Regions from separate parts of the Homo sapiens genome. Here region 2 is linked to region 1. The links are contacts of gene promoters, found by promoter capture Hi-C in blood cells and fetal thymus (Javierre and others, 2016). All regions are on one chromosome and are shown on one strand. The core of a region is centred on a gene start or on the middle of the fragment in contact, and the rest is flanking DNA. Distances in the headings are between cores, read along the strand shown. Region 1 holds the start of HAUS6 (HAUS augmin like complex subunit 6). Region 2 holds the start of C9orf72 (C9orf72-SMCR8 complex subunit).

Evidence for each region. Contacts are between HindIII fragments. The CHiCAGO score rates a contact against its expected background, and 5 or more counts as called.
Region 2: the fragment with the promoter of C9orf72 here is called in contact with the fragment with the promoter of HAUS6 in region 1 in 1 of 17 cell types (non-activated CD4 T cells); the score reaches 7.4 in non-activated CD4 T cells.

Annotation. Positions count from the first base shown.
Region 1 is chr9:19,100,801-19,105,690 of GRCh38, forward strand. HAUS6 (HAUS augmin like complex subunit 6) reads right to left here and starts at 2,104. Exons shown (of 17, transcript NM_017645.5): 1 at 1,724-2,104. The coding sequence starts at 1,851. RefSeq lists an enhancer at 1,783-2,346. The HindIII fragment of the contact is 8,228 bases long and covers 1-4,371 here.
Region 2 is chr9:27,570,881-27,575,770 of GRCh38, forward strand. It overlaps C9orf72 (C9orf72-SMCR8 complex subunit), which reads right to left and starts at 2,601. Exons shown (of 11, transcript NM_018325.5): 1 at 2,551-2,601. RefSeq lists enhancers at 1,995-2,084, 2,683-3,210 and a silencer at 2,595-2,674. The HindIII fragment of the contact is 3,790 bases long and covers 2,042-4,890 here.

The DNA of each region.
Region 1 (4,890 bases), core at 854-3,353:
ACTGGAGGTCATTATCTTAAGTAAAATAAACCAGGCACGGAAAGACAAATATCACATGTTCTCACATGTGAAAGCAAAAAAAGTGGACCTCATGGAGGTAGGGAGTAGAATGGTGGTTAACACAGTCTAGGAAAGGAAAAGGAGAGAAGGAGGGAGGAAGAGAAGTTGATTAATGGGTACAAATATACAGTTAGATAGAAGGAATAAGTTCTAGTGTTCAATAGTACATAAGTGAAACTATAGTTAAAAATAATTTATTGTGTATTTTAAAATAGCTAGAAAAGAACTGAAATGTTTCCAACACAAAGGAAAGATAAATGTTTGAGATGATGGCTATCCCATTTATCCTGATCTGATCCTTATACATTGTATAAGTGTATCAAAATATCAAAATTTTATATCCCCAAAATATGTACAACTATGAACATAAATAAAACAGGCCAGGCTCGGTGGCTCACATCTGTAATCCCAGCACTTGGAGTGGCCAAGGCGGGGGGATTGCTGGAGGCCAGGAGCTCAAGACCAGCCTGGGCAACATGCCGACCCTAGGCATGGTGCCACGCACCTGTAGTCCCAGCTACTCAGGAGGGTGAAGTGGGAGGATCGCCTGAGCCCAGGAGTTGGAGGCTGCAGTGAGCTGTGATCGCACAACTGCACTCCAGACTGGGCGACAGAGTGGGAGACCCTGTCTCAAAACAAAAAACAATGGCTCATATCTATAATCCCAGCACTTTGGAAGACCGAAGCAGGAGGATTGCTTGAGCCCAGGAATTTTGAGACCAGCCTGGGCAACATGGTTAGCTACTGTCTCTAAAATAATAATACTTTAAAAAAATAGAGGCCGGGCACGGTGGCTCACGCCTGTAATCCCAGCACTTTGGGAGGCCGAGGCAGGTGGATCATGAGCTCAGGAGATCGAGACCATCCTGGCCAACATGGTGAAACCCCGTCTCTACTAAAGATACAAAAATTGGTTGGGCGTGGTGGCAAGTGCCTGTAATCCCAGCTACTCGGGAGGCTGAGGCAGGAGAATCGCTTGAACCAGGGAGTTGGAGGGTGCAGTGAGCCGAGATCGTGCCACTGCACTCCAGCCTGGCAACAGAGGGAGACTCCATATGAAAGAAAAGAATTCCTCTTGGCCTACAGTGGGAATGATTAAATAGAGATACTGGCTAAAGTTGATAAAACAGAAGTGGAAAAAGTAGGGAAGGGGCTTTTACTTTCCATACTTTTCTTAAAAGGGTATTTGTTTTTAATACCCTTCTCCGTTGTTTTATGCTAACTCCAACATGCCTTACTAATTAAAAAATTAAAAATTATAAAATTAAACAACCACCTTCAAAGGCTCCCTTGAGTCCAAAAGGTGTTTTGTACATATGGTTCCCATGCTCTTCCACTACCACCCGCCATCCCTCCCACTACTTCACAGACCACCCCTCCACCACATAGGCAGAGTTAAGCTGCTCCTCCAGTCTTGCACTCTCCCCATCTGCAGACTTTTGCACTCCCCTACAGAGCGCTTCCGGCACTCTTGCATTATTTACTGTCTGTCTCTGCCCCTAGGCTGGCAGCAACTGGGAGTAGGAACTTTGGAGCCAATGCCTGGCACAGAGTAACTGCTCAACCAATTCTGATTAATCAACCTCCGGGGTCTACAAAAGGGGGAGTCCCCCGGCGTCCCCCGGTTCAGGCTCCCTCGCCCCGCCGGCCCCGGCCTCCTTACACTCCGAGGTGCGTGTGCGACACGATCTTTCCGCAGGCAATGGTTGCCGGGCCTGGCTCGAAGCCGAGCGCCTGCAGATACATCCAGAGATGCTCCTTCTCGAAAGCGGTGACCGAGGCCGAGCTCATCCTCGCGGTAGGCACGGTGGCTGCAAAGAAAGAAAGCGCAAGCCCAGGGGACTCGGAGGGCCCTCAAGATCCCTCCCTACGGTCAGCCTGAGGTCGCGGTGGTCCTTCCATTGCCAACGCCTGCTCCTTTCACGCCCAGAGCGATTTCGCCTCAAAGGGCCTCACAACCTCCGGGAAATTGAGTTTCTAACGGTATAGTGCGGCCACCACTGCCTCAGCGAAGCCACCACAAACCGAGACTCCCGCCCTTAAGGAAGAGCAGTGTGCGCCGGCGCCGCCAGGCGTCCGAGGGAGGAGGGACTTCCGGCAAAGACTATATCTCCCGCCATGCAATGCGTCCTTCTCTCCTCCCTTCCGGCCATGCCCAGCCAAGAAACTGCAAGACCCACCGGGCATTGCGCGGCCAGCGACTTGCTCTGCGCTTGCTTAACCGCTGTCGTGCCCAGATCCTCGGGCCTTCGGGTTTCTGATTCTTGGTTAGTGGGGTCCATTTGCTTGTGTATCCTAGTTGTTACGTCACAAAAAAGCCATAAATGGAGCACTATGCCTCGGTGTAGAGTTAAAGCATTGGTTCCATCCTCCGCTATGCTCACTGTGACTCTAATCAAGTCACGTAATCTCTGAGCCTCATTTCTGTCGTTAGCGAAATCTATGTCCTCAAATGCCGGATGTTCCTTTTCCTGCTTTAAATGAAATCTGGCTCTATACTCCCCTGCAGTCCTGCAGTCTTTTTTTTTTTTTTTTTTTTTTTTGAGACGGGGTTTCGCTCTTGTTGCTCAAGTTGGGGTGCAGTGACGCGATTTCGGCTCACTGCAACCTCCGCCTCCCGGGTTCAAGCGATTCTCCTGCCTCAGCCTCCCGAGTAGCTGGGATTAACAGGTGTCCGCCACCACGCCCGGCTAATTTTTTTGTATTTTTAATGGAGACGGGGTTTCACCATGTTGGCTGGCTGGTCTCGAACTCCTGACCTCAGGTTATCTGCCGGTCTTGGCCTCCCAAAGTGCTGGGATTACAGGCGTGAGCCACTGCGCCTGGCCGCCTGCAGTCCTCTTAATTTTTTTTTTTTTTTTTTTTTTTTTTTTGAGACGGAGTCTAGCTCTGTCTCCCAGGCTGGAGTGCAGTGGCGCAATCTCGGCTCACTGCAAGCTCCGCCTCCCAGGTTCACGCCATTCTCCTGCCTCAGCCTCCCGAGTAGCTGGGACTACAGGCTCCCACCACCACGCCGGGCTAATTTTTTGTATTTTTAGTAGAGACGGGGTTTCACCCTGTTAGCCAGGATGGTCTCGATCTCCTGACCTCGTGATCCGCCCTCCTCGGCCTCCCGAAGTGCTGGGATTATAGGCGTGAGCCACCGCACCCGGCCCGTCGTCTTAATTGACAGCTGTTGCCTACCACAAACCCCACTGACAACAGGGCCTGGAAGTGGATTGGGTAACCTGCTTTTAAGTCTCATTGCTACCTCTGGCAATGATTGTCTCCTGCCTCACTAAAATCACCTTAATAAAAGAGAGAGAGGCGGGGCACAGTGGCTCACGCCTATAATCCCAGCACTTTGGGAGGCCAAGGTGGGCGGATCACCTGAGGTGGGGAGTTCGAGACCAGCCTGACCAACATGTAGAAACCCCGTCTCTACTAAAAATACAAAATTAGCCGGGCGTGGTAGCGCATGCCTGTAATCCCAGCTCAGCTACTCGGGAGGCTGAGGCAGAAGAATCGCTTGAACCCGGGAGGCAGACGTTGCAGTGAGCCAAGATCCTTCCACTGCATTCCAGCCTGGGCGACAAAGTGAGACTCTGTCTCAAAAAAAAAAAAAAAAAAGAGGAGAGAGAGAGAGAGAAAGAAAGAAAAGCCACTAAGTTGCCCAGGCTGGGCTCGAACTCCTGGGCTCAAGCGACCTGCCCACCTTGACCTCCCAAGGAATGAGCCACCGTGCCCAGCCTAAAAGCACCTTTTGAAGTTTATGCTATCACCCATAGCTTTTCATTATGGAGGTCATCTGTAAGATCTCTGACTCCATTCTGGTGGTGCACGCCTGTGGTCCAGCTGCTCAGAAGGCTGAGGTGGGAAAATCACGTGGGCCCTGGGAGGCTGAGGCTGCAGTAAACTGTGATTGCACGACTGCACTTCAGCCTAGTGACAGAGCAAGACCCTTCTCAAAGCAAAAGAACAGCCACAAAAAAAAAATCTCTGACTCCTGTCGACAAAAAGAGTCAAAGTCTGTAAAATTGTTGCCGGAAAAAACAGAGTCCTGATCCAGACCCAAAGAGAAGGTTCTTGGATCTCGTGCAGGAAATAATTTGAGGTGAATCACAGAACACAATGAAGGAAGCAAGTTTATTGGAAACTACTCCGTTGAAGAGCGGAGCAACCTCAGAAAGCAGGCGGAGGAACACAAGGTCCTTTGTTACTGTCTCTGCTTGTAAGAAACTATAAAGAGCTGTGATTAAACTTGGAATGCGCAGATGTGCTCACTAAAGGTAGGGCTATTGTGCTTTCAGAGACCATTAATCTTTCAACCTAAGCTTGCTCATTAACGTCATCTTTAAGTAAAGTGGGCTGCTCTTTAGAACATCTGGACATTCTGCAGGCTTAGTGGGAGATGTCCTGTATGGCCATAAATATTCTGTAATTATAATTGGTGGCCAGCTTAGAATGTGGCTATTTTTAAACCATAAGCATTAATTTTATAGGAGCCTTGTAAGTGCCTAGCTACTTTAAGATGGAGTCACTCTAGTCATGTTTTATTAAACCAGAGGTCTGGTAAGCAGGGGTTCCTCTAACAGAATATTTAAAGAGGTTTATTCTGAGCCAAATATGAATGACCATGGCCTGAGGCACAGTCTCAAGAGTTCCTGAGAACATGTGCCCAAGATGATGGGGCTATAGCTTTGTTTTATACAGTTTTAGAGAGACATAAGACATCAATCAATACACGTGACGTATACATTGGTTCTGTACAGAAAGGTGAGGCAACTCAAAGTGGTGGGTTCAGGTCATAGGTGGACTCAAAGATTTTCTGATTGGGGCGGATGTGATGGC
Region 2 (4,890 bases), core at 1,351-3,850, 8.5 Mb after region 1:
AACAAACAAACAAACAAAAAGAATAAGAAAGAAAATGAAGGACAAAGATCATACTGAATTGCTTAGTTTTAAATCCTACCAAAAGAAATAGCCTGGGAAATGAAATGTCACAGAGAAGTATAATCAGGAGAGCTGTACAATTATTTTACTAATACTTGAAGTCATCGTCTTTGGTGAGAAAAATCCATACATGCAAATGCAGCTGAAAAAAATCAGCTCAAAACCAATAGTTGTTTATGTACCTATCTTACGTACATGTAGTGCTGTCTACTCCAGAGAGTTACCAAACATTAGCCAGTCTTTTGAGGGAAGCCAAGATTCAAATTGAGTGAGACGGTGGCTTGCTCACAGGGTTCATGAGAGGTTTCCCAATACACTTTCTGGAAATAATCCCATACATGCAGACATGATTACATTAATTAACATCTGCTAAAACTGTTAGTAGAGTGCTAAGTTTGAGGTTTTGCTTTTTCTTTAAACGTCTGTTAAAAAATCAACCATCTCTTCCCTGATTGGTATTTAGAAAGGTGGTTGGTCCACTGCTATTGTAGTGAAAATTCTACAATCATAAAGCCCTCACTTCTTGTTTTTTAGAGACAGGGTCTCGTTTTGTCATCCAGGCTGGAATGCACTGGCAGGATCATAGCTCTCGGTAACTTCAAACTCTTGGGCTCAAATGACCCTCCTGCCTCAGCCTCCCAAGTAGCTAGGACTACAGGTGCACATCACCACGCCCGGCTAAGTTTTTAATTTTTTGTAGAGACAGGGTCTACGTTGCCCAGGTTGAGCTTGAACTCCTGGCTTCAAGTGATCCTCTTGCCTCCGCCTCCCAAAGCTCTGGCATTACAGGTGTAAGCCACCTTCTCCAACCTGGCTCTCAATACTTGTAACCATGCTGTTTATTTTCTCCCAGCCCAAAGAGAAGCAGGATCCTAAACCGTCCACTTTCCACAACAGGAGCTGCCCAGGACCACTTCAAGGACAGTGAACTGTTTACAGTACCAGAAAGTTCACAACACTTTCTCAATCTTCAACATCAGGGAAGACTGGAAGGTGAAGTTCATATCACTATCTGGCCATTTCTCACAGTTCCAAGTTTCTCAGACAATAGGTAGGCTAACCTAGTCCTCCTGGGAACTATCTAATTAACGTAGAATAGAACCCGAGGGCAGACTTGAAAAACAGAAGTCCTCCTTGGTTTACTTTGTTTCTCTGAAAGCAAATTGTGGAGTGCCAACATAGCCAAACAAAATATTTTATCAACTTCATAAGGTGCTTGTAATTTTTTCCTGGAGCAGGTAAATGCTGGCTTAGTGAACAATCTGGAATGTGGTAATTACTCTCGTTCTTGTTTCAGATGTACTATCAGCATGTAGCAGTTTCCAACTGATTCAGGGTTTTCCTAAAGTGGCAGGCCTTGGCAGAGGTGGTGACAACAATGCCCGTGTCAAATGACACCGTATTTCAAGTATTCTGACTCCAGGTTATTAATATCCCCTATATGATAGTCTTGTTTCTGTGATATTCACAGATTATGTTAAAAGTTTCCCAAAGTCTGAGAAAAATCATATCTTAACAGTATCTTTTTTTTTTTTGATCCTTTGTACAAAAGTAGAAGTAATGCCAGACAGATTACGTACCCTTGTTGTGAACAACTGGTGCATGGCAACTGTTTGAATAGAAATTTACCAACTGCCACAACCAGGCAACTACTCTCCCAGAGCCTAACAATCTCGATTGCATCTGAAAGGGCCACCCCTCCTGGGAAAGTGCAGGACCTCCCTCCTGTTTCTGAATACAAAGCCTGGTGGTGTTCAACGCGGCCAGATAGACCCAATGAGCACACGGACATGTAATCTGTGCACTTCTTTAGACAACTGATTACCATCAGTCAAGTGATGCCCAAGTCACAATAGTCACTTCCTTTAAGCAAGTCTGTGTCATCTCGGAGCTGTGAAGCAACCAGGTCATGTCCCACAGAATGGGGAGCACACCGACTTGCATTGCTGCCCTCATATGCAAGTCATCACCACTCTCTAGAAGCTTGGGCTGAAATTGTGCAGGCGTCTCCACACCCCCATCTCATCCCGCATGATCTCCTCGCCGGCAGGGACCGTCTCGGGTTCCTAGCGAACCCCGACTTGGTCCGCAGAAGCCGCGCGCCGCCCACCCTCCGGCCTTCCCCCAGGCGAGGCCTCTCAGTACCCGAGGCTCCCTTTTCTCGAGCCCGCAGCGGCAGCGCTCCCAGCGGGTCCCCGGGAAGGAGACAGCTCGGGTACTGAGGGCGGGAAAGCAAGGAAGAGGCCAGATCCCCATCCCTTGTCCCTGCGCCGCCGCCGCCGCCGCCGCCGCCGGGAAGCCCGGGGCCCGGATGCAGGCAATTCCACCAGTCGCTAGAGGCGAAAGCCCGACACCCAGCTTCGGTCAGAGAAATGAGAGGGAAAGTAAAAATGCGTCGAGCTCTGAGGAGAGCCCCCGCTTCTACCCGCGCCTCTTCCCGGCAGCCGAACCCCAAACAGCCACCCGCCAGGATGCCGCCTCCTCACTCACCCACTCGCCACCGCCTGCGCCTCCGCCGCCGCGGGCGCAGGCACCGCAACCGCAGCCCCGCCCCGGGCCCGCCCCCGGGCCCGCCCCGACCACGCCCCGGCCCCGGCCCCGGCCCCTAGCGCGCGACTCCTGAGTTCCAGAGCTTGCTACAGGCTGCGGTTGTTTCCCTCCTTGTTTTCTTCTGGTTAATCTTTATCAGGTCTTTTCTTGTTCACCCTCAGCGAGTACTGTGAGAGCAAGTAGTGGGGAGAGAGGGTGGGAAAAACAAAAACACACACCTCCTAAACCCACACCTGCTCTTGCTAGACCCCGCCCCCAAAAGAGAAGCAACCGGGCAGCAGGGACGGCTGACACACCAAGCGTCATCTTTTACGTGGGCGGAACTTGTCGCTGTTTGACGCACCTCTCTTTCCTAGCGGGACACCGTAGGTTACGTCTGTCTGTTTTCTATGTGCGATGACGTTTTCTCACGAGGCTAGCGAAATGGGGCGGGGCAACTTGTCCTGTTCTTTTATCTTAAGACCCGCTCTGGAGGAGCGTTGGCGCAATAGCGTGTGCGAACCTTAATAGGGGAGGCTGCTGGATCTGGAGAAAGTGAAGACGATTTCGTGGTTTTGAATGGTTTTGTTTGTGCTTGGTAGGCAGTGGGCGCTCAACACATAATTGGTGGATGAAATTTTGTTTTTACCGTAAGACACTGTTAAGTGCATTCAAAACTCCACTGCAAACCCTGGTAGGGGACAGCTCCGGCACTGCGGGCGGGAATCCCACGGTCCCCTGCAAAGTCATCGCAATTTTGCCTTTACATGTAAGAATTCTCTCAAGCATGATTTTCACACTGGGGAATGTCATTTTTGCTAGTTGCAATATGTGGATGAGTTGTTTTTTTTTAACTTTTGAAAAACGTACCATTCTGTTTGATGTGTAAAAAACACAAAGATTTTTGAAACCTTGCGTCTTTTGGTCTGCAGGTGTATAGATTCCACTTACTACAGATGAGTAGCATTTACACCACTCAGATGTGTAAAAAAACAAAGGTTTTTTAAACTGTGTGCCTTTTGATCTGCAAGTGTGAGATGGCACTTACTACAGTGAGTAGCATTTAATCTTTTTCATCACTAAAAATCACACAGAACGTTTTAATCATTCACCGAGGAAGAAAGGGAGGAATAAATACACAAAATGGCTCTCAACGTCTACACCTTCTGCAGAAACAGACCCTTTTCCTACTGTTCTATGCTTTGTGAAAGTTGATCATACAAATTGGGTCATTCTTTTTATACCCAACTAAAATAGTGGGGGTAGGGGGTAGAAAAGCACTTAGGACAAATGACACTGCTCCCACAGTGTAATTCTCTCCAAGTCCAGCTGCTGCAACTGCCCGTTGTGACCTGAGACCAGTTTTATCTAATAGTTGCTAAAATGACCTGCTGCAGCTCTAATTTTATCTACCACCATCACTCACCAGTTGAAACTCACCAGCTCCTCAGATCCTTAATAGTGCCAATGAATTTTCTCAAAGAGCACTATGTAACATTTCTCTTTTTTAACAAAACCTCCCCCTTTTCTTTGTTGTGTGGATATACCGAAGACCATCTGATCTACATGTATGCCCTAATTGCAATTCTTTCTTCCCAAATAAATCACTTAATTTAGAGATTCATCTCTGTATTTTTATTTTGACTGACAGCTTATAACAAGTAGCTAGCATTTACCAAGTTTCTACACTGAGTTGTACTTCACTTATACGTGGAATTAAAAAACAACTGAATTTATAGAAACAGAGTAGACCCTTGGTTGGGGGGCTTGGGGGGAAAGAAAATTGTAGGGTAGGGTACAAAGTTGCAGTTACGTCTAATACATCTAGAGATTTAATGTACAACATGAGGACTAGCGTTAATAATTGTGTTAGTCCATTCTTACACTGCTATAAAGAAATAACTGAAACTGGGTAATTTATAAAGAAAAGTTTAATGGCTCACAGTTCTGCAGGCTGTACAAGAAGCATGGCTGGATCAGCTTCTGGGCAGGCCATAGGGAACTTAAAATCATGATGGAAGGCATAGGGAGACCCCAGACTTCACATGGCAGGAACTGGGGGAAGAGAGAAATGGGAGGTGCTACATACGTTTAAACAACTAGATCTTGTCAGAACTCACTATATAGTACCAAGAGGGGACTGTACAAAACCATTAGAAGCCACCCCATAATCCACTCACCTCCCACCAGGCCCAACCTCCAACACTGGGGATTACAGTTGAACATGAGATTTGGGTGGGGACAGAGATCCAAACCATGTTATTCCAACTCTGGCCCCTCCCAAATCTAATGTCCTTCTCA